7 separate regions of the Homo sapiens genome follow, and regions 1, 2, 4, 5, 6 and 7 are each linked to region 3. Evidence: promoter capture Hi-C in 16 types of primary human blood cells and fetal thymus (Javierre and others, 2016). All regions are on one chromosome and are shown on one strand. Each heading gives the region's core, a stretch centred on a gene start or on the middle of the fragment in contact. The rest is flanking DNA. Distances are from core to core; before and after follow the strand shown.

Region 1 (2,775 bases), core at 110-2,609, 370 kb before region 3:
GCCCGGTATAACTGTTAATCAATAATGCACCAGGTTAAGGTCCCAAGTGACAAAGTTACTATGGCACAGCTGAGATCCAAGCCTCATTTGAATATCTAAGGCTCTTCTCTTTTCCATAGGCCAAGATGATTTATTCAGCTATGCCTCCTCTCTTCCAGATGAAGTAAGGCCTTTCTTTCTTTTTTCTTTTCTTTTTTTTTTTTTAGATGGAGTCTCACTCTGTCGCCCAGACTGGAGTGCAGTGGCTCCATTTCAGCTCACTGCAACCTCTGCCACCCTGGTTCAACTGATTCTCCTGCCTCAGCCTCCCGAGTAGCTAGGATTACAGGCTCCTGCCACCATGCCTGGCTAATTTTGGTATTTTTAGTAGAGACGGGGTTTCACCGTCTTGGCTAGGCTGGGCTTGAATTCCCTGACCTCGTGATCCACCTGCCTTGGCCTACCAAAGTGCTGGGATTACAAGCGTGAGCCACTGCACTCGGCTGAGATAAGGCCTTTTTTGTTCTTAAAAGATCTTGAAGAAATAAGATTTTCACGCTTCTCTTTGAAGATTATCTAACAGTAATAAAACATATCCTGGCTGTGAAGCTTATATGTGGCCTCAATTTTTCCCTCAACTTGAGCTCATTAGCTCTTACATAAAAGAGATATTAAAATATTAGTTTAATTTAAATTAGACAATCACGATAATGATACTCTTTCTTGGCTGCTCATCAAAATGAACTGTGGAATTATTTTACTATTTTATTGGGGTTATAACACTGTAGTAGGCTGAATAATGGCTCTCAAAGATATCCAGGCCCTAATCACCAAACTCTGCAAATGTTACCTTAAATGAAAAATGGGACTTTGCAGACGTGATTAAGTTAAGGATCTTGAGATGGGGGATTATCCCTGTTTATCCAAGTAGGCCTTAAATGTAATAACGAAGTGTCCTTAAAAGCGATGTAGAGAAGGCCAGGCAAAGTGACCCATGCTGGTAATCTCAGCACTCTGGGAGGCCAAGGTGGGAGGACTGCTTGAGGCCAGGAGTTCAAGGATGCAGTGAGTTATGATCATGCCACTGCACTCCAGCCTGGGCGACAGAGAAAACCCCATCTCTTAAAACAAACAAACAAACAAAACAACAACAACAACAACAACAACAAGAGAGATGTAGGGAGAGATTTTACCACAAAGGAGAAAGCAATGTGACAAGCAGAAAGAGATTTGAACATGCCACATCGCTGGATCTGAAGAGGGAGGGGGCCATAATCCAGGGAATGCAAGAAATGCAGTTCTAGAAGCTAGAAAAGGCAACAAAAAGACTCTCCTCTATATCCTCCAGAGAAAGCATGACCCTCCTGATACATTGACTTTAGATTGGTGAAACTCATTTAGAACTTGTGACTTCCAAAACTATAAAACAGTAAACTTCCATTGTTTTAAGCCACTACCCTTCTAGCTTGTGGTAATTTGTTATAGCAGCAGGTTATATAGGAACCTAATATAAACTTACACACAGTGAAGTGTGTTAAGTGCACTAATCTTAAGTGTACCTTGAATTTTTACCTATGTACACATTATGTACTATAACCAGATTAAAATACAAAATATTGTATAAAATACAGAATATTTGGGAGGTGGAGGCAGGCAGATTGCCTGAGCTTAGGAGTTCAAGACTAGCATGGGCTACATGGCGAAACTCCATCTCTACTAAAAATACAAAAAATTAGCTGGGTATGATGGTGTGTGCCTGTAGTTCCAACTACTCAGGAGGCTGAGGCATGAGAATTGCTTGAACCCAGGAGGCAGAGGTTGCAATGAGCCGAGATCACTCCACTTCACTCCAGCCTGGGTGACAGAGTGAGACTGTCTCAAAAACAAAAAACAACAACAACAAAAAAAAAAACAGAAAAAAGCAATATTTCTACCAACTCAGGATTCCAGCATTCCCTTGTACCTTTCCCCAGTCAATGTTCTTTCCTCAGAGCTAACCACGAATCCAACTTATTGCCAGTAATTGGCTTTGCTTGTTCTTAAACTTCACATAATCAACATACAGTATGAATTCCCATGTGTCTGGCTTCTTTTGCTCAACAATGCCTTTGACAGTCATCCATATATTGAATATTTAAAATAAAAAGCTTAAAAATAGCCAGGTATAGGGATGTGTGCCAGTATCAAAGCTACCTACTCCAGAGAGGGAAGTGGGAAGACTGCTTGAGCCCCGGAGTTCAAGGCTATAGTGTGCCATTATCATGGCTGTGAATAGCCACTGCATTCCAGCCTGGGCAACATAGTGAAACCTTGTCTCTTTAAAAACAATAAATTGGTCAGGCACAGTGGCTCATGCTTGTACTCCTAGTACTACGGCAGAAGGCAGGAAGATCCTTTGAGCCCAGGAGTTCAAGAGTAGCCCAGGCAACATAGGGAGACCTTGTCTTTACAAAAAATAAAAATAATTAGCTGAGTGTGGTGGAGCAGGCATGTGGTCCCAGCTACTTGTGAAGCTGAGGTGGGAGGATCAACTGAACCTAGGAGGTCGAGGCGGCAGTGAGCCATGCCTCTCTACTCCAGCCTGGGTGACAGACAGAGATCCTGTCTCTAAATAAATAAATAATTTAATTAAAAATTAAAAAACCAGTGCTCACTTAGACAGCACATGTACTAAAATTGGAACAACACAGAGAAGATTAGTGTGGCCCCTGTGCGAAGATAATACACAAATTCATGAAGCATTCCATATATATATATTTAAAAGTAAAAAGCCAAAAAAATCATTATACCTGCTTA
Region 2 (2,700 bases), core at 119-2,618, 430 kb before region 3:
GTTTTCACCATGTTAGCCAGGATGGTCTCGATCTCCTGACCTCATGATCCTCCTGTCTCAGCCTCCCAAAGTGCCAAGATTACAGGCGTGAGCCACTGCACCTGGCCCTGAAATTTTTTTTTTTAACAACAAAAAAAACAATAAAGAGCAAACAGACCAGCAGAATAAATGTAGGACAAACCTGGCCTTGAGTCATGGCTCTACCACTAATAAACATAGTAGTCTTAATCTCGTAGAATCTCAGGACCTTGTTGTCATAGGGCTGTTGGAGGACCAAATGAGAGCGTTTATTAAGCCTTTCTTTATCAAAGTCTTGCCCATTGCTTTTAAAACGGCAGCAATTATTATGGAGAATAATAATTATTTTCAGAAGGATATTCTCCATTTTATCCATTCCTGTGCCTTTGTAAAGCTCTTTACAGAATTTGAAAGTAAAGCTCTTAACCATTTATATTGCAGATATTATCCCTAGTTTGTCATTTTCTTTTGGAAGTTTCTGGTTTTCACTTGGGCAAAATATACTGTCTTAATGCTTTCTGGATTTGCTTGCTTGTTCACTCATTTAACAAATATTTATTAAGCACCTATCTTGTGCCAAGTATTGTGCTAGGAATCCAAACACACGTGCCAGATAGATGGTCCCTGACCTTATGGGGCCTACAGTCCAGGTGTAGGACCAGACTTAAAGTCCATCTGTACTCTACGAATATTAAAAGATTCACCTACATTTTCTACTAGTAACTAACTCCTATGAGTCTTGTTCCATCTGATTCTATGCCTTTCTCTGTCGGTCCTCTGCCTGCAGGTGTCCTGGTAAAGGTGGTGGAGGTGTACTTCTGTGAGCGCTGTGAACAGAGCTTCGCAGAGCCCACTCTGCTGGCCCTGCACCAGTGCAGTGAGACCCATATACAGCCTGTGCAGGGCCTCTCTAGCCCCCCATGCTCTGTAGAGCTGCCTCCCAGCAACCCAACCCTCCCTGGCCCTCTGCAGGGCCAGAGCCCGCCAGTTAGCCCCCTATCATGCCCTGTGTGTAGACAGGAGTTTGCCCAACCCCAGGCCCTGAAGAGCCACTTCAAGATTCACCGGGGCACTCCTGACACCTTCTCCTGCCCAGAATCTGGCTGTGTGTTCTCTGCTGAAGATCGCAAGGGTCTGCAGCACCACCTGAGGCAGACTCACAGAGCAGTTCCTGTGCCCTGTTCTTTCCGGGGCTGCCCCCTGCTTTTCGGGAGCCAGCAGGGCATGGAGCTGCACCGGCAGGCGCATTACCCTTTCCACTGCAGCCACTGCAGCTTCATAGGCTCCAACGTCAAACTCTTCCGGCAGCATCAGCGGAGCCATGGTGCTGGGACACAGGGAGAACTTTCTGCCGTTCAGGGCCTTCCATCCCAGGAGCTGCTGCCAGGTATGAGGCCAAGGGCCAAGCAGTTCCTCTCCTGGAGTTCAGCCACAGTTGATCTTATAGGAGAGGCAGTTGTTTCCAAGGCCATGAATGTACATGAATATAAGAGAATCTAGACAGTGGCTCAGGAGGATGGAGTTACTGGATGACATGGGAAGGCATCTTGAAACAGTTGGAATATATGGGACAAAGAGGAAGTCTTTGTTTGTGACAATGAGTGAAAGTTGGCTTAGGCTACGTGTGGCCTGAAGTTACTTAACCAATATTCTCTAATGATCCATTTCACAACTTTCTGAGAGCTAAAGTGAAAATGACCATCATTGGCTATGGCCACTGATAGAATGCCTGTAGACTTTCCTTTAGAGCAACTGGGGATTGGGCAGTAGAAGCCAGGGTTATTTTAAAAAGGAAATAACCCTTTGGGCTGGGCACTGTGGCACATGCCTGTGATCCCAACAATTTGAGAGGCCAAGGTGGATGGATCCCTTGAGCCCAGGAGTTCAAGACCAGCCTGGGCAATGTGGTGAAATGCTGTCTCTACAAAAAATACAAAAATTGGGTGTGGTGGTACATGTCTGTAGTCCCAGTTACTCGGGAGGTTGAGGTGGGGGATCACTTGAGCTCAGGAGGTGGAGGTTGCAGTGAGCCAAGATTGCAGCACTGCACTTCAGTCTGGATGACAGAGTAAGACCCTGTCTCAAAAAAAAAAAAAAAAAGAAGTAAAGAAAGGAACTTAGGAACTTTCAAGGGAGACGGCGTTTTAGTAGTTGTCATTCTTCTTGGTCCCAAAAAAGCATGAGAGAGCAGAGGAGCAGGAGGAAACAGAGAAAACGGGCCAGGAGAGGCCAGAATTCTGATAAGAGAAGGAATTGCAGTCTACCCATTCTCTACTTTCAGCCCCCTATGACCTCAATGACCTCGCTGCTGTCAGCTTCATGGAGTCTGAAAGTGGTGCTCTCTGAGGTTTGAGTTACTTTAGACTGGAACATTGCTAATAACTTAGCTCTTCGTCCTCCTATTTTCATCTTGAGTGGAAATACATTTATACATAAAACCCAAGATCTCCTTATGCTAAAAGTGGGAGAGGGTGATTATTTCAGCCAGTAGGTAGAGAAGTATAAGCATTTAGTGCTGTTATTGGCTCCTGTAGACTTTATCAAGTTTTATGTATCTCCAGCTCCCAAACTGCCTCCAGGAGAGAGAGAACCTTCACAGGAAGCAGGTACACCCTTGCCTGGGCAGGAGACAGCTGAAGAGGAGAATGTAGAGAAAGAAGAGAAGAGTGACACCCAGAAGGA
Region 3 (2,793 bases), core at 95-2,594:
CAAAAATTAGAACCCAAAATCCTTAGCTCATGTTTTAAATATTATACTAGAAAAGCAAAGCAGCTTTGGAGGAGCAGATTGTCTTCTACTGATTCTTGTGTTTGGCAGAGAGGCTGCCTTGGAAAGATGCCCTAAGCCCATCTTTTAAAAAGTCCAATCGTAAAGACAGGTTATCTAAGAACTTTATAGATTCTGGAGTCTTTGAAGTGTGTAACTGGGCCAGGGCTACCACAGAAGAAATCACAGACCTAGGGTCTTGATGTAAGAATTTACAAGATAACCAGATAAAGGCTAGTGGGTGAGGAGAGAGCATTAGAACCTCAAAGGAGAGATAAGGAAGGGGTGTGGAGCGAGGGACAATTGGCTTTGCTTTAAAAATATGTAACAAAATGGCCCAGTGTCTCTCACAGAAGGGTTCGGGGAAGGGAAACCAGAGATCGCGTTTTTCCGGCTCTAAGACTGGGTCGGCTTTTAGTCTTCTCTTCTGCTCCTTTTAAAGGAGATGGGGGTGGGGAACGAGAATGCTGGTGGCGATGTGGGCCTGCATCTCCTTCCCTCCTCCAGTCCTGGGAATTCCTGAAAACTCCTTCCAACCCAATTCCAAACAGGCTCTCTCTGGGTTCAGAACAATGCCGGGGAATTTCACGCAGGGAAGGGGTCCCCTTCTCGCCCCAGAGGGCAGGGGGCTACTCCGGAGCGAGTTCCGGCTCCAGGGTCCCCCACGTCCCACAGGTCTCCTGCCCTTTGGCACGCACAGCCCTCACCACTCGCTGCTTCCGCATCCCTCCTCTGAGCCTCTCCCCACGCATCTCTGCCCCTCGCCCGGCCGCGCCCAATCGCCTCCCACGTCTACCCCGCTGGGGCAGCCCCTACACCCTGCCAGGCACCCCATTTCTCTCCTCCAGGTCTGGGGGACTGGACAACATTGGGGATTAGCTGGGGTCAACTCTGCTTCCCCCGCCACCCCCGGCCCCGGGCGCGCGCTCACCCGGCGGCCGCGTTCTCGAACTTGAGCGCGAGCGTCTCCTCGATGATGCGGTTGTTCACCTCCAGCAGGATCATGGCGGCGGCTGCCCCCAGGGGAAGGAGAAACAAGGGCCGGTGAGGGTGGGTAAGGGAGGCAAGGACGGAGGGAGCGGCCCTGCTGCCCCCTGAGTGGGGCTGGGTGGGGTAGGAGGTTAGGGGAGAAGGGGAGAGGGGCCGGGGTGGAGGGAAGGGTAAGACGAACGCGCTGGCCCACGCACGCAGACTGTGGAGACACCCACCCACCCAACCGACCTGGCCCCCGAAGCCTGAACCCGCCTGCCGAGCCGCCGCCGCCGCCGCCACTGCCGCTTCACCGACAAGCCCGGTCCCCGCCCAGCCCCCGGCTCTAGCCGGCCACTTCCGCTCTCACACCCACTTCCGCTCGCCGCCTGGACGCGCGGCCCCGCGGCGCCATTTCCGCTTCAACCACTCGTGAACGCGAGCGCAGGCGCGCCGGAGGAAACGGAGGCTGCGCTTGCGTATGTGTGATGCCGCCGCCCCACCGTCTACTTTCCCACCGACCCCGCTTACGTCTACCGCCTACCAGTGCGTCCCCCGCGGAGCTGTCATTCCCCGAGGCTTGCCTGACTGTTCAGCTTCTCTCTCCCGCTTGTCCCAGAGATCCAACTCCATTCTTCCGGTCTTGTCATTTCAGAAACCTCGCAAGAAGCTCGCCCTTGTCGTCTCCCAGCGGGCTTCTTAGCTCCCAGCTTGTTTGATGGGGGTGCCTCTTTTTCTTTCCAGGTATAGCTGTCCAGCGACACCATCATGCATTCATTTCTCCAACAAACATTTTCATGGGCTCTTGCTCTATACTGGGGATGTAGTGGTAAATGAAATGGACGAGGCCCTGCCCTCGTGGAACTTACAGTCTGGCAAAGGAAACAGACAATAAAATTCTCAGTTGTCTAAGGAGGCAGAGATGCATGGGGAGAGGATCAGAGTAGGGATGCGGAAGCAGCGAGTGGTCAGGAGTGTGCGTGCCAAAAGGCAGGAGACCTGTGGGACGTGGGGGCAGCTGGGGCCGGAACTTGCGCTGGAGGAACACCCCTTGCCTGCTGGGGCGAGAAGAGGACCCTTTCCTTGGGTGAAATTCCCCATATTGTTAAAAGGACAATTAAAGAAATGAAAGAGAGGTCACCTGGGTGAATAGGCAACTTAGATGGGCCTCCCTGTGTTCCTGTCATGCCTCCAATTCTGCGTCCAGGTGTCCGGAACACATTTTTTTCTGCCTTTGAAACCTTCCAGTACCTCTGGCAGAGATATACCATACCCTCCTTGTTACCTGCGTGCGGAATCTTAACTCATCGTTGTGCTACATCTGCACCTTCTGCCTTTGTGCCTTGTTTTGTGTTTTCCCTCCTCCGGGGAGAATATAATAAACTTAGCTGAGTCCGTTCTACATACAAGGAAATAATTTATTTTCTGCTATGTGTTTGGGGATGGGGATAAAAAAATGAACAAGAAACTAGCTCCTATCATTAAGGCACAGATAGCCCTTTGAAACATTACTTAACGGGCTATGGATAAGCTTCAGGATATTGCTGATCCCCTAAAATTATACGCTAACTTAAATTTTTTTTTTTTTGAGACAGAGTCTTGCACTCTTGCCCAGGCTGGAGTGCAATGGCATGATCTCGGCTCACTGCAACCTCTGCCTCCCCGGTTCAAGCGATTCTCCTGCCTCAGCCTCCCAAATAGCTGGGATTAAAGGTGCCTGCCACCATGCCCTTTTAATGTTTTGTATTTTTAGTAGAGACGGGGTTT
Region 4 (3,019 bases), core at 19-2,518, 500 kb before region 3:
CAATGGTACGATCTCGGCTCGCTGCAACCTCTGCCTCCCGCGTTCATGCAATTCTCCCGCCTCAGCCTCCCGAATAGCCGGGATTACAGGCACCCGCCATCGTGCCCGGATAATTTTTGTATTTTTGTAGAGACAGGGTTTCACCATGCTGACCAGGCTGGAGTATTTCTTATTATATCACAATATCACATCAGCAAAGCCACGAGTTGGACCTATTCATATGAAAAAGGCGTTCCCCTCTTACCACCATCTCCTTGTTGCTATTTTTTACTCAGTGCGTGCACTCTGCCACAGCTGTACCCAACCCCTTCAATAGTGTCTTTCCTCCTCCTGAGGCCAATCCAAAATCCTCCAGTTCTTTCATCCTCCCCCACATCAAATCAATCTCTCTCACAATGTCAACTATTATCTGCAGAAGAGTCATTTTGCAGATTTGTCGTCTCAAGTTTCATGTCTGCATCACCAACTGCCTGTTCCACCTTTCCAAATGCATGTCCAACCACTTCAATCTAGTGTGTCAAACTAGCTCTCCACTCCTGATCGTCCCATTTCCTTGAGTGGACCCTTCTTTCTCCAAATCACCTAAGAGGAAAACTAAGTTATTTCTGACTTTTTCCTTTACTTTATTTCCCCAAAGGGAAACCAGTCATGAAATTTAAGACACTCTGTCTACTTAGCATTCTTCCTCCTTTTATTATTTCCACCATGCCCCTAGATCTGGACTTACTGCAACAGCACTGACTGAAGCATGTGTCTCCAAGGTGTGCCCTTCCTAATTCCACCCTGCAGGCAACCTCCAGATTAATTTTGCTGTATTGCTTCATCAGGTCAATCCCTTTTCAAAAACGGTCCATGAGCACTTACTAAACACTGTGGTGGCCCACCTGCATCAGAATAACCTGAGATGCAAAGTCCTGAGATTCACCTTCAAGAGGATTCAGTTGGTGTGGAGTAGGGCCATGAGTCTGCAGTTTTAACAAGCATTCCAGATGACTGTCATGTGAGATTTCTTAGCTTTGGTCCACAAGACTCCATAGTCGACCCTTAATCTTTTTTTTTTTTTTTTTAAGGCTTATTTCCATTTCCTCCTACCTTGAACTCTGTTATGTGAACTGCGCTGGTCTTACACTAAATTCCTGGAATAAACCTTTCAAATGCCTGTCTGCAGGGCTTTACTCCACTAAGCTTCTTCCTTGTGAATCCTTACCATATTTTATTTACCTTTTCCAGACCCAGCTCAAGACCCACCCTCTCCACGAGCACCTGTTGTGTGTCCCTCTCACGTGATACTTTCCCAAGGCTATCTCACACCACTGTTCACTTACCCTAGTGATATGCCCTATAAGCTTCATGATGGCTTTTATAGGAAATCTCTGGGGATCTTTAACCTCAAATACAGAGCCACGCTGGCAGAAGGGGGTGGGAAGAACCCTGGTCCAGTTTGGCCTCCTATTAGCAATATTGCCCAAGTCTCCTCCCCCAACAACTTTATGGAACACTAAGTCTTCCTAGAACAAAAGTTTTTAAAAAATTGACTTAGAAACGATGGATATGTTCAATGTGAATTATACCTCCACAAAACTGTTAAAAATAAAAATAAAACTTGAATAAAGGGGTAAGAGTGAAGAATAAAAAACTGCAGAAAGTTGTATGGATCAACAAAATGGCCTGAAACATCCCCTTCTATTTGCATGGCTGCCTCAGCCCAGTCTCCAACCCCTCTAACACCAAGTGCAGGACTGTTAAGGTAAGCAGCCTGACTGATGTCCCTGGCTCCAGACTCTCCCCTTTAAAACACCCATTCTCAGGAATCTGAACATCCTACTTTGTCATCTTCATGCAGCATTTGGAAACTGCCTATACAGTTCTGTCCTCCAATCTTTATGGGGTGATTTTGCCTCAAGTTTCCTCCTTAAAGGAGTGTGAATGATTAGTAGCCTATGTTAGAAAATCTATTGCTGGCCGGGCGCAGTGGTTCATGCCTGAAATCCCAGTACTTTGGGAGGCCGAGGTGGGCAGATCACCTGAGGTCGAGAGTTCGAAACCAGCCTGAGCAACATGGAGAAACCCCATTTCTACTAAAAATACAAAACTAGCCAGGCATGGTGGTGCATGCCTGTAATCCCAGCTACTTGGGAGGTGGAGGCAGGAGAATCGCTTGAACCTGGGAGGCAGAGGTTGCGGTGAGCCGAGATTGCGCCATTGCACTCCAGCCTGGGCAACAAGAGTGAAACTGCGTCTCAAAAGAAAAAAAAAAAAGAAAAGAAAATCTATTGCTGCTGTCGCAAACCAACAAGTCTCCAGGGACCAGGCCCAGACCAACTTGGACAAGGTATCTATTTCTAGAGAAAGCAATTATTCATTACCCACTAATTAAATCACTCTCCTACAAGAGAGTGTGGCTCTTGGGAAATGCAGTTTCCCTTTCCTCCTTCAACTAGGTGTTTCCCTCGGTCACCAGGGAAACTCAGGACATCAGAAATGGTTCAGTCTACAGTCCACAAGATCTCTGATGAGATTACCTCAACTGCTCAACAGTTATGTTAGAAGATAGAACTGACAGGCTCACGCCTGTAATCCCAACACTTTGGGAGGCTGAGGCAGGTGGATCACGAGGTCAGGAGATCAAAACCATCCTGGTTAACACGGTGAAACCCCATCTCTACTAAAAATACAAAAGGCGTGGTGGCAGACGCCTGCAGTCCCAGCTACTTGGGAGGCTGAGGCAGGAGAATGGCCTGAACCCGGGAGGCGGAGCTTGCAGTGAGCCGAGACTGTGCCACTGCACTCCAGCCTGGGTGACAGAGCAAGACTCTGTCTCCAAAAAAAAAAAAAAGAAGAAGATAGAACTGACTTGCCTGGAACCAAATAGAGAGGAGTGTAGGAATCACATTAATTTTCTCTTATGAGATAAATCCCAAGCTCTCTCTCCCTAAGGAAAGGTGGAGGAGCAATATATCTCTCCTAAAGCCCTACTAAGAGAGGAAGGTCAAGAATACAGCCTAGTGAGAAGGGTGGG
Region 5 (2,803 bases), core at 22-2,521, 310 kb before region 3:
GTCAGATAAATTGAGTTTGCCGTCTTATATGGGTGCAGTTCGTGGTACCCCAAAACAGTGACAACAGTAACATCAAAGATCACTGATCGCAGATCACTGTAATAGATATAATTAAAAAGTTTGAAACATTGCAAGAATTACCAAAATGTGACATAGACATGAAGTGAGCGAGCGTATACTGTTGGGAAAATGGCACTGATAGACTTGCTTGGTGCAGGGTTGCCACAGCCTTCCATTTGTTTAAAAAAAAACATACAAAAAAACCTGCAATATCTGTGAGGCACAATAAAGCAAAGAGCAATAAAATGAGGTATTCCTGTATTTGATGAGAAGGAAAAAGAGTTAAATATAATCAGGACTAATGTATACTTTTATTATTAAATGAACTTGAATGGTTGATTTAGGAATTAAGTTTTTCCTTTGTTCATTTGTTTTATAGGGCTTTTACCTTTACAGTCATCATCCTTTTATGGTAGCAGAGCTGGATCCAAGGAACACTCTTCTGGTGGCACTAACTTAGACAGGTATGCATTGGTTATATTACTTGTGAAAAACTTAGGAGTTCTTTTTTTTTCAGAATATTGAATGATTGGATAGGTTATGTATTATCCTCTTAAGTGAATATGATAATTTAACAAAATTGACGAGACTCATAGAATCCTGACATGTTAGTTAGAAAGTATTCTAGAAATGAGCTGAGCACAGTGGCTCACACCTGTAATCCCAGCACTTTGAGAGGCTGAGGTGGAAGGATCACTTGAGCCTTGGAGATCAAGGCTGCAATGAGCCATAATTATGCCACTGTACTCCAGCTTGAGCAACAGAACGAGACCCTGTCTCAAAAAAAAAGAGACAAGATCTCACTGTGTTGCCCAGCCTGGTCTCAAATTTCCTGACTTGAAACGATCCTCCCACCTCAGCCTTCCAAAGTGCTAGGGTTATAAGTGTTGAACCACTGCTCCTGCTCCTGGCCTCTACAGAATTTTTTTTTTTTTTTTTTTTGTTTGAGACCAAGTCTCGCCCTGTCACCCAGGCTGGATAGAGTACAGTGGTGCTATCTTGGCTCACTGCAGCCTTGCCTCAGCCTCCCACATAGCTGGGATTACAGGTGCCTGTCAGCACACCACGCTAATTTTTGTAGAGACAGGATTTTAGCATATTGACCAGGCTGATCTCAAACTCCTGACCTCAAGTGATCTGCCTTTCTTGGCCTCCCAAAGTGTTGGGATTATAGGCGTGAGCCATCGCATCCGACCACTCTACAGAAAATTTTTTAAAAATTAGCTGGGCATGGTGCCGTGTGCCTGTAGTGATAGCTACTTAGGAGGCTGAGTTGGGAGGTGCTCTTAAACCTGGCTCTGGGAAGTTTTGTAGTGATGCCATAGATTGCGACAGACAATATTATCAGACTGTAGACCAATATATATTCTACCATCCCATGTGGATGAACATACTAAGATCTCTCCTCTGAAGCATTTTTATTTTCCTTTTGTTGCTGTTGTATTTGTTAAGCTACATTTTAAATATTTAGGAATTTCCCTTAAAAATCAAAAGCTGTATTACAGCAGTGAATGTCTTTTATTAATAAATTGGAAAAGGCTAGTTGGATATTTAATTGCCAATTCTATAGATAAGCTCTTTTTTTTTTTTTTTTTTTTTTTTTTTTTTTTTTTTTTCAGATTTATTGGGTATAAATACATAAGATACCTGCTAAGCACTTGTTGAGAACATGTGATCATGCAGTGCAGCACAGAAGGGTTGATGGTTTTAAATGTAAAAAGTGAGGGTAATGGCAAATGCCCATCAATGATAGACAGGATAAAGAAAATGTGGCATATATATACCATGGAATACTATGCAGCCATAAAAATGGATGAGTTCATGTCCTTTGCAGAGACATGGATGAAGCTGAAAACCATCATTCTCAGCAAACTGACACAGGAACATAAAACCAAACACCACATATTCTTACTCATAAGTGGATGTTGAACAATGAGAACACATGGACACAGGGAGGGGAACATCACTCACCGGGGTCTGTCGTGGGGTGGGGGGCTAGGGGAGGGATAGCATTAAGAGAAATACCTAATGTAGATGATGGGTTGATGGGTGCAGCAAACCATGATGGCATGTGTATACCTATGTAACAAACCTGCACATTGTACACATGTATCCCAGAACTTAAAATATAATTAAAAAAAAAAAGTGAGGGTAATGGTAGTCTATAATATACATGCTATATAATGACCTATTAAGTCATATGTTTGTTTGTTTGTTTGAGATGGAGTCTCGCTGTATCGCCCAGGCTGGAGGACAGTAGGGCAATCTCGGCTGACTGCAACCTCTGCCTTCTGGGTTCGAGTGATTAGCCTGCCTCAGCCTCCCAAGTAGCTGGTATTACAGGCGCCCACCAACATGCCCAGCTCTTTTTTTGTATTTTTAGTGGAGACGGGGTTTCACTGTGTTAGCCAGGATGGTCTCGATTTCCTGACCTCATGATGTGCCTGCCTTGACCTCCCAAAGTACTGGGATTACAGGTGTGAGTGACCGCGCCCAGCCCATATTTGGTTCTTAATAGAATTTAATTCAAAGTGTTAAAAACATCTTGGTTATTTGTATAAAATGATTAAGGTAAAGAATTTGATATTATATATTTAGGTATATTCAGCCTTGGGTGGTATCTCAAGCACTTTATAGATTACAGTGGTAATTAAGTTATTTGAATTTAGGAGAGAGGAAGTTTGACATATTTCTGCTTATTAGAAGAATCTTAAATCTAAGTTTTAAAAAAGCCTACATTTGG
Region 6 (3,088 bases), core at 33-2,532, 490 kb before region 3:
CAATAGCCTCCTAACTGCTTATCCTACTTCGCATTCTCCCCTACTCCCCATAGCCATTCACAAGACCAGAATGAAGAATGATCCGTTTAGGATGCAAGGTAGTTCATAAAATTCTCTGTTCAAAAGCCTGCAATAGATGCCTCCTTCATTCAAAGTAAGAGCCCAAGTCTTCACCAAGGTCTACAAAGCCTACAATATCTGGCCCCCACCATTACCTTCCTGTCTCATTTCCTACTATTCTCCACCTTCTTTACTCACTTAATCCATACTGGTTCCTCATAGCTCCTCAAGCATGCCAGGCATGCTTTCATCTCAGGGCCTTGGCTTTTCCCCAAAATAGGTGCACAACTCACTCCCTCGCCTCCTTCGAGTCTTTTCTCAAGTGTCACCTTCTAGTGAGGCCTACCCTGACCATCCGACTCAGCACTCCTCATCTCCTTTCCCTGGTTTCTTTTTCTCCATAGCTTTTACCACCTTCCTACATACTATTCTTTTAATAATTTCACTATCTCCCCGACCAGAATGGAAACTCTATGATGGGCACTGTTTTATCTCCTGTACCTAGAATAGTATCTGGCATACAGAAAGGACTCAAAAAATATACATTGAACTGAATTGAGATAATCTGGATAGAAGAAAATTATGGTGCTCCCTAGAAAAATATTATTTTTGCTAAAGTATAAACACTGTGGACAATGAAGATGAGGGTTAAACAAAATTTCTTATAAAAATAAGGGCACTTTACTTGTCTTTCATTTCTAAAACAACTGGAATTTAAGGAAGGACAGAAAGGAGTCTCCTCATTTTATGGATGGAGAAATCAAGGCCCTGGAAGCTTGTTCTAAGCCATCCAATGAGTTAAGGTTTTCCAATGCTTCCAGTTAGATTATAATTCTAACAGGTCTGACTAAAAGCCCTTTCTGGTAAATTGTACAATCTTTAAAATAGCTATCCTTCTACAGCAGCTTGGAGTCCCTACACATTAGAACTCCACTAAATATTAAAATTAGTCACTAAGTCTGAGCAACCTAATTGACCGCTCTGTTGAATCTTACCCTTTCCTATTTCAGCTCCACCGGCCTTGACTTGAAAGTAGGTAACCAAATATAGTTCATCTAGGAAGGGGGAAATTGGTAAAGGCAAGAAATGATATAAATAAGCTGCCAGACCAGGATCTTGTGTGAACACGATACCAGCACCTCCAACACCACATAGAAGCTGAAAGAGGGGTTGAGCCTCTCAACCCTTGTCCTGGGAGCTTCAAGTATGGTGAGGCACAACTTTTATTAAAAGAGTTTACAAACAGAACTATTAAACACACACACACATACACACACACATATACACACACACCCCAAAAAAAGATACACTCTCCACGCCCACCCACAGATAGGAATGTTGGCTAAGGGATAATCCCTCAATAACAGGGACTGATGGCATTGATCCCCACAGCCTAGAGCTGAGACAGGCTCTGTCTTCATCACTGTCCTGGGGCCAGCACGTCTAAGGCAAAAACCTGCTGGGAAGATTAAAGGAGCTCCAGAAAGGAAGAGATCTTTCAGGTTGAGGTTTTTCCCTAAGGTCCGTGAGGCAGGTCCCTAGAGTTAAAGGCACATTATTGGAGAAAAGGCCCCTGGATGTAGAGAAGAAAGGACTCTTCTCTGGCACCAACAGCAATAAAATTTACTGGTTGAAAACATCCTGCATCTGGGAGAAGGAAGAAGCTTTATATATAAATCTCTTCTAGTTTCTTGTTCTCAGTTGAGTTGGCAGCTTATCTCTTTTCTAGTCTCTTTAGCTCTCAGTTGAGTTGGCGGCTTGTGTAGTAGAATAAGAAAGAGCTGGCAACCAAAGTTGGAGGCTGGACCGCAGGAATCTGGAATCACATGCTATGGGCTGGCCTCAGGAGGTGAATGAGTTTCCTGCAGTGTTTGGCAGAGGCAGGCCTAGGACTGCTGTGTGGCAGTGACTGATTCCCCAGAGAGAGCAAGGATAGTTTCTCACTGGCACCCAGGGACACCAGTACCTGTAGGATAGAGAACAGATGATAGAACAGAACATGAGGCTCAGAAATGGTGGTGTCTGGGGCAGGTGCGGAGGACTCTCATTTACCCAGGAATTCCCACTCGAGAAGAGGAAGAAAAAGGAAATGGGCTCTTGGGGACTTGGAATAGACTGAATGGCAGAAGAGAAACCTTGGAGATAGGAATCATCAGGACCAGAAGTCTACTTCCATTCTCTTTGGTTATAGACCATGAAACCAAGGCACTAAGGGACACATATACTTGTCCCCAGGAAGACTTGATGAATGCAGCAGTAACTCACAGTAAGCCAAAAGGTCTAATTCCTAGCCTTCAATGCAGACCAGTGAGTTCTAACCTCATTACCACCAAGAATCCCATTAATTATTTTCCCCATGGATTGCACAAGATTCCTATAGGATCTTCACCATCGGCCAGGCAAGGTGGCTCATGCCTGTAATCCCGTACTTTGGGAGGCCAAGGCGGGCGGGTCACGAGGTCAGGACATCGAGACCATCCTGGCTATCACGGTGAAACCCCGTCTCTACTAAAAAAAAAAAAAATACAAAAAATTAGCTGGGTGTGGCGGCAGGTGCCTGTAGTCCCAGCTACTCGGGAGGCTGAGGCAGAATGGCGTGAACCCGGGAGGCAGAGCTTGCAGTGAGCCAAGATCGCGCCACTGCACTCCAGCCTGGGGGCGACAAAGTGAGACTCCGTCTCAAAAAAAAAAAAAAGATCTTCACCATCCTCTCAAATTTCTGCTCTGCATGAACTTCCCAATGCTACCACTTTGAGATGTCATAATTTATATTACCATATGTAGATATCTGTGATTTCCAATGGGCTTTTTTTTTTTTTTGAGACAGAGTCTCGCTATGTCACCCAGGCTGGAATGCAGAGGCATGATCTCCGCTCACTGCAACCTCCTCCTCCCAGGTTCAAGGGATTCTCTTGCCTTAGCCTCCCGAGAAGCTGGGATTACAGGCGCCTGCCACCACACCCAGCTAATTTTTGTATTTTTAGTAGAGACAGGGTTTCACTATGTTGGCCAGGCTGGTCTCAAACTC
Region 7 (3,084 bases), core at 310-2,809, 450 kb before region 3:
CCTCGACCTCCCCAGGCTCAGGTGATCCTTCTGCCTCAGCCTTCCGAGTAGCTGAGACTACAGGTGTGTGCCACCATGCCTGGCTAATTTTTGTATTTTTTGTAGAGACGGAGTTTTGCCATGTTGGCCAGACTGGTCTTGAACCCCTGGGTTCAAGTGATCCTCCCACCTCAGCCTCCCAAGGTGCTGGAATTACAGGCGTGAGCCACCACACCCGGCCTCCTTTTCATTAATAACTGAGGTGCAGGCACCTGGGAAGACTAGATGAGTCCCAAAGAAGTAAAGTGATTTGCCAAAAGATAGAAAATTATGAATAGAAATCCATATCTGTCTGACTCCACACCTTAGATTCTTTGTACTAGGACATTCTTCAGTCCCCACTCCCCCAATTTTTTTTTTTTTTTTTTTTTTTTTTGAGACGGAGTCTTGCTCTGTCGCCCAGGCTGGAGTGCAGTGGCGCAATCTCGGTTCACTGCAAGCTCCGCCTCCCGGGTTCATGCCATTCTCCTGCCTCAGCCTCCCGAGTAGCTGGGACTACAGGCGCCCGCCACCACACCCAGCTAATTTTTTGTGATTTTTAGTAGAGACGGGGTTTCACCCTGTTAGCCAGGATGGTCTCTATCTCCTGACTTCATGATCCACCCGCCTCAGCCTCCCAAAGTGCTGGGATTACAGGCCTGAGCCACCGCGCCCGGCCCCCCTCCCCCATTTTGTTGTCACCACCTTACCACCATCCCATCCAGGACCCATATAACTAGGGTGGGCGAAGTATTGAAGGGCCACTTGACTGAGGCTACACCTCAATGTTACATTGGTTCAGGGAGCCCAGCTAGTACTGGCCGTTATTAAGAGTATCTAGACTACTGGTTTTCAAAGTGTTCAGGGAAACTTCTTTTTTTTTTTTTTTTTTAAGAGACAGAGTCTTACTTTGTCACCCAGGCTGGAGTACAGTGGCAAGATCATGGCTCACTACAGCCTCGACCTCCTGGGCTCCCGTGATTCTTCTGCCTCAGTCTCCCAAGTAGCTGGGACCACCGTGTCCAGTTAATTTTTTATTTTTTGTAGAGATAGTGTCTCGCTTTGTTGCCCAGGCTGGTCTCGAACTCCTGGCCTCAAGTGATCCTCCCACCTCAGCCTCCCAAAGCGCTGGGATAACTTACAGTTTACCTGTTCAGGGGAACTTTTAAGATTCAGGGGAGACACCTTGAGCCATGGAGACAGCAACAATGAGTGCAGCAGCCTGTAGTACTGTGAGACTCCCACTCCCATGTCAGCCAGAACTACACTGTTATCTGTGAGGTGTGAAGCTTTATATTTTATATTTTGAAGTTTCTGCCTAAGACTTAACAACACTGACATAGGTCGTGCTGGGGCAGCCTTACTCTTAGAATGAAGAGGGAGCAGTGTGAGAAAGCAAAGTGTGCATTTTTCCATGTATCACTTGGTAGAGCTGTAGACACAAACTGATCACTCAGCTTCAATTTCATTACAACTGCTGTTTCTATGCTTAAGTATGTGTGTCCCTTGATTTACATCAGAACCATGGATCCTAACCTCAACAGGCTGATCTAGATCAACCAGACAGCCAGGTCATAAATACATCCAGAGTACTCTATTACCTCCTTCCTTCCCTCTTTCCTTCTAAGGGAGAAGGTTATATACAGACAGGAAAAAAAGAGGACGTAGACTAGCTACGATAGCCCAGATACTATTAGGTACTTTATGTAAACAAATCACCTTTTATCCTCACAATAACCCTAGAGAGTAGGTGTTATTATCTATATGTGACAGACAGGATAACTTAAGCTTACAGAGAGGTCACGTCCCAGATTGCATAGCTTGTAAGTGATTGGTACCTGTTAACTAACTCCGAGGCTGCTGGCTCTTCCATTACAACACAGCCTTTATACCACCCTAAATATGTTGTGTTGAGGTTGCTATCTCCTTTAAGAAGGCTTAGGGTGACTGGTGTTAAAACTGTATGTAGACAGTAGCCAAGGCACTGGGATCCACACTGGACAGTGACGTAGGGAAAGGTTGGAGTAATATTGGTAACGTTAATGCTAATGAATGAGTGCCATATCTCTAGACCAGAGATTCAGCCACTAAGGGGAATGAAACTTAAACAGGGAGTCAGGAAACCTGGCTCTGGGCCTAGTTCTACCTATGTTAAGCCTTGGTTAGTCATTTTACTTCTCTAGAATCCACTTCTTCATCTGTTGGCAGAAATGATGCCTAAAATTCTGATTTCCATGCCTTCTATTTGGCCAGTTGACAACTTAAGGTAACATATTCCTTGTTTTTAAGGAGTTTAGCAGGAGAATGCATTCTGGTAGATTGCCATTTTTCTACAAAGCCTGCCTTTATTGGCCTTAGCAGGCTTCCACAGGGAGAGCTGTAATGGTAAGTTAGTCTACTCCTGTCTCTCTAGGGTCCTTCCCTCTGAAGTTGAAGTATTGGAGTCCATCTATCTAGATGAACTACAGGTGATTAAAGGAAATGGCAGGTATGTATTCAACCAGTGGTGGGCAGGAGTCCCCCTAGTAATGAGGAGAGGTTCTATGCTGAATTTGGGTCTTAAGACATTGTGAGCCTTGATTCAGAGATAATATTTCTCTTGTGTAGACAAAAGCTATTCCTTTAATCCTACCCCAAAAGAAAGAGTCCAATGTGTACTTCCTTTGCCCACTTCACTGTCTCAGCCCCATCCTCCCCAGCCCCCAAGCCCCTACCCAGTCACATCTGCGTGTCCACTTGATCCACCTGCAGAACTTCACCATGGGAGATCTACATCACTTTGCATCCTGCCACTGCAGAGGACCAGGATTCACAGTATGTCTGCTTCACTCTGGTGCTTCAGGTCCCAGCAGAGGTGAAGCCCCTACTGTGTGGCAGCAAAGGGAGGAAGGGGAGAGTCCCTGGGGTGGACCGCTTCAGCAGTAACTTGTTATTTGCCCCCACTAGTATCCCCATGAGGTGCCACAGATCTCTATCCGAAATCCCCGAGGACTTTCAGATGAACAGATCCACACGTAAGTTGAACCTGTCAGAACAGGGAAAACTCAGCTACAGCTTTGCCCGGTG

What was found. The method cuts DNA at HindIII sites, captures the fragments that hold promoters and counts their contacts. A CHiCAGO score of 5 or more calls a contact.
Region 1: a contact is called between a fragment that was not itself captured here and the fragment with the promoter of ARPC2 in region 3, in 1 of 17 cell types (non-activated CD4 T cells). The highest score is 5.1, in non-activated CD4 T cells.
Region 2: a contact is called between a fragment that was not itself captured here and the fragment with the promoter of ARPC2 in region 3, in 10 of 17 cell types (total B cells, fetal thymus, non-activated CD4 T cells and 7 more). The highest score is 12.6, in total B cells.
Region 4: a contact is called between a fragment that was not itself captured here and the fragment with the promoter of ARPC2 in region 3, in 3 of 17 cell types (naive B cells, fetal thymus and total CD4 T cells). The highest score is 6.9, in naive B cells.
Region 5: a fragment that was not itself captured here is called in contact with the fragment with the promoter of ARPC2 in region 3 in 1 of 17 cell types (neutrophils); the score reaches 5.1 in neutrophils.
Region 6: a contact is called between a fragment that was not itself captured here and the fragment with the promoter of ARPC2 in region 3, in 6 of 17 cell types (fetal thymus, total B cells, non-activated CD4 T cells and 3 more). The highest score is 8.6, in fetal thymus.
Region 7: a contact is called between a fragment that was not itself captured here and the fragment with the promoter of ARPC2 in region 3, in 10 of 17 cell types (non-activated CD4 T cells, fetal thymus, total CD4 T cells and 7 more). The highest score is 10.0, in non-activated CD4 T cells.

What each region holds. Positions count from the first base shown.
Region 1 is chr2:218,589,171-218,591,945 of GRCh38, reverse strand. The region is part of intron 5 of CNOT9 (CCR4-NOT transcription complex subunit 9); the gene reads right to left. It also overlaps the pseudogene RNU6-136P. Among named protein-coding and RNA genes, the nearest start is that of PLCD4, 17 kb to the left of the region's middle. The HindIII fragment of the contact is 1,538 bases long and covers 591-2,128 here.
Region 2 is chr2:218,650,406-218,653,105 of GRCh38, reverse strand. ZNF142 (zinc finger protein 142) reads left to right here. Exons shown (of 11, transcript NM_001379659.1): 5 at 806-1,405; 6 at 2,580-2,700. Among named protein-coding and RNA genes, the nearest start is that of ZNF142, 7.9 kb to the left of the region's middle. The HindIII fragment of the contact is 7,287 bases long and covers 1-2,700 here.
Region 3 is chr2:218,215,740-218,218,532 of GRCh38, reverse strand. It overlaps ARPC2 (actin related protein 2/3 complex subunit 2), which reads right to left and starts at 1,344. Exons shown (of 11, transcript NM_152862.3): 1 at 1,279-1,344; 2 at 989-1,070. The coding sequence starts at 1,062. It overlaps LOC101928487 (a long non-coding RNA gene), which reads left to right and starts at 1,347. Exons shown (of 2, transcript XR_923908.2): 1 at 1,347-1,505; 2 at 1,682-2,432. RefSeq lists a silencer at 1,161-1,210 and an enhancer at 732-1,335. The HindIII fragment of the contact is 6,430 bases long and covers 1-2,559 here.
Region 4 is chr2:218,717,619-218,720,637 of GRCh38, reverse strand. All of the region lies in intron 1 of TTLL4 (tubulin tyrosine ligase like 4), which reads right to left. Among named protein-coding and RNA genes, the nearest start is that of TTLL4, 8.3 kb to the right of the region's middle. RefSeq lists a silencer at 775-1,072. The HindIII fragment of the contact is 161 bases long and covers 1,188-1,348 here.
Region 5 is chr2:218,527,677-218,530,479 of GRCh38, reverse strand. USP37 (ubiquitin specific peptidase 37) reads left to right here. Exons shown (of 26, transcript NM_020935.3): 10 at 440-524. Among named protein-coding and RNA genes, the nearest start is that of USP37, 39 kb to the left of the region's middle. The HindIII fragment of the contact is 9,507 bases long and covers 1-2,803 here.
Region 6 is chr2:218,700,804-218,703,891 of GRCh38, reverse strand. STK36 (serine/threonine kinase 36) reads right to left here. Exons shown (of 27, transcript NM_015690.5): 27 at 1,177-2,026. The coding sequence ends at 1,883. Among named protein-coding and RNA genes, the nearest start is that of TTLL4, 8.5 kb to the left of the region's middle. The HindIII fragment of the contact is 889 bases long and covers 838-1,726 here.
Region 7 is chr2:218,668,027-218,671,110 of GRCh38, reverse strand. It overlaps RNF25 (ring finger protein 25), which reads left to right. Exons shown (of 10, transcript NM_022453.3): 2 at 2,432-2,506; 3 at 2,770-2,872; 4 at 2,965-3,032. Among named protein-coding and RNA genes, the nearest start is that of RNF25, 2.4 kb to the left of the region's middle. The HindIII fragment of the contact is 499 bases long and covers 1,310-1,808 here.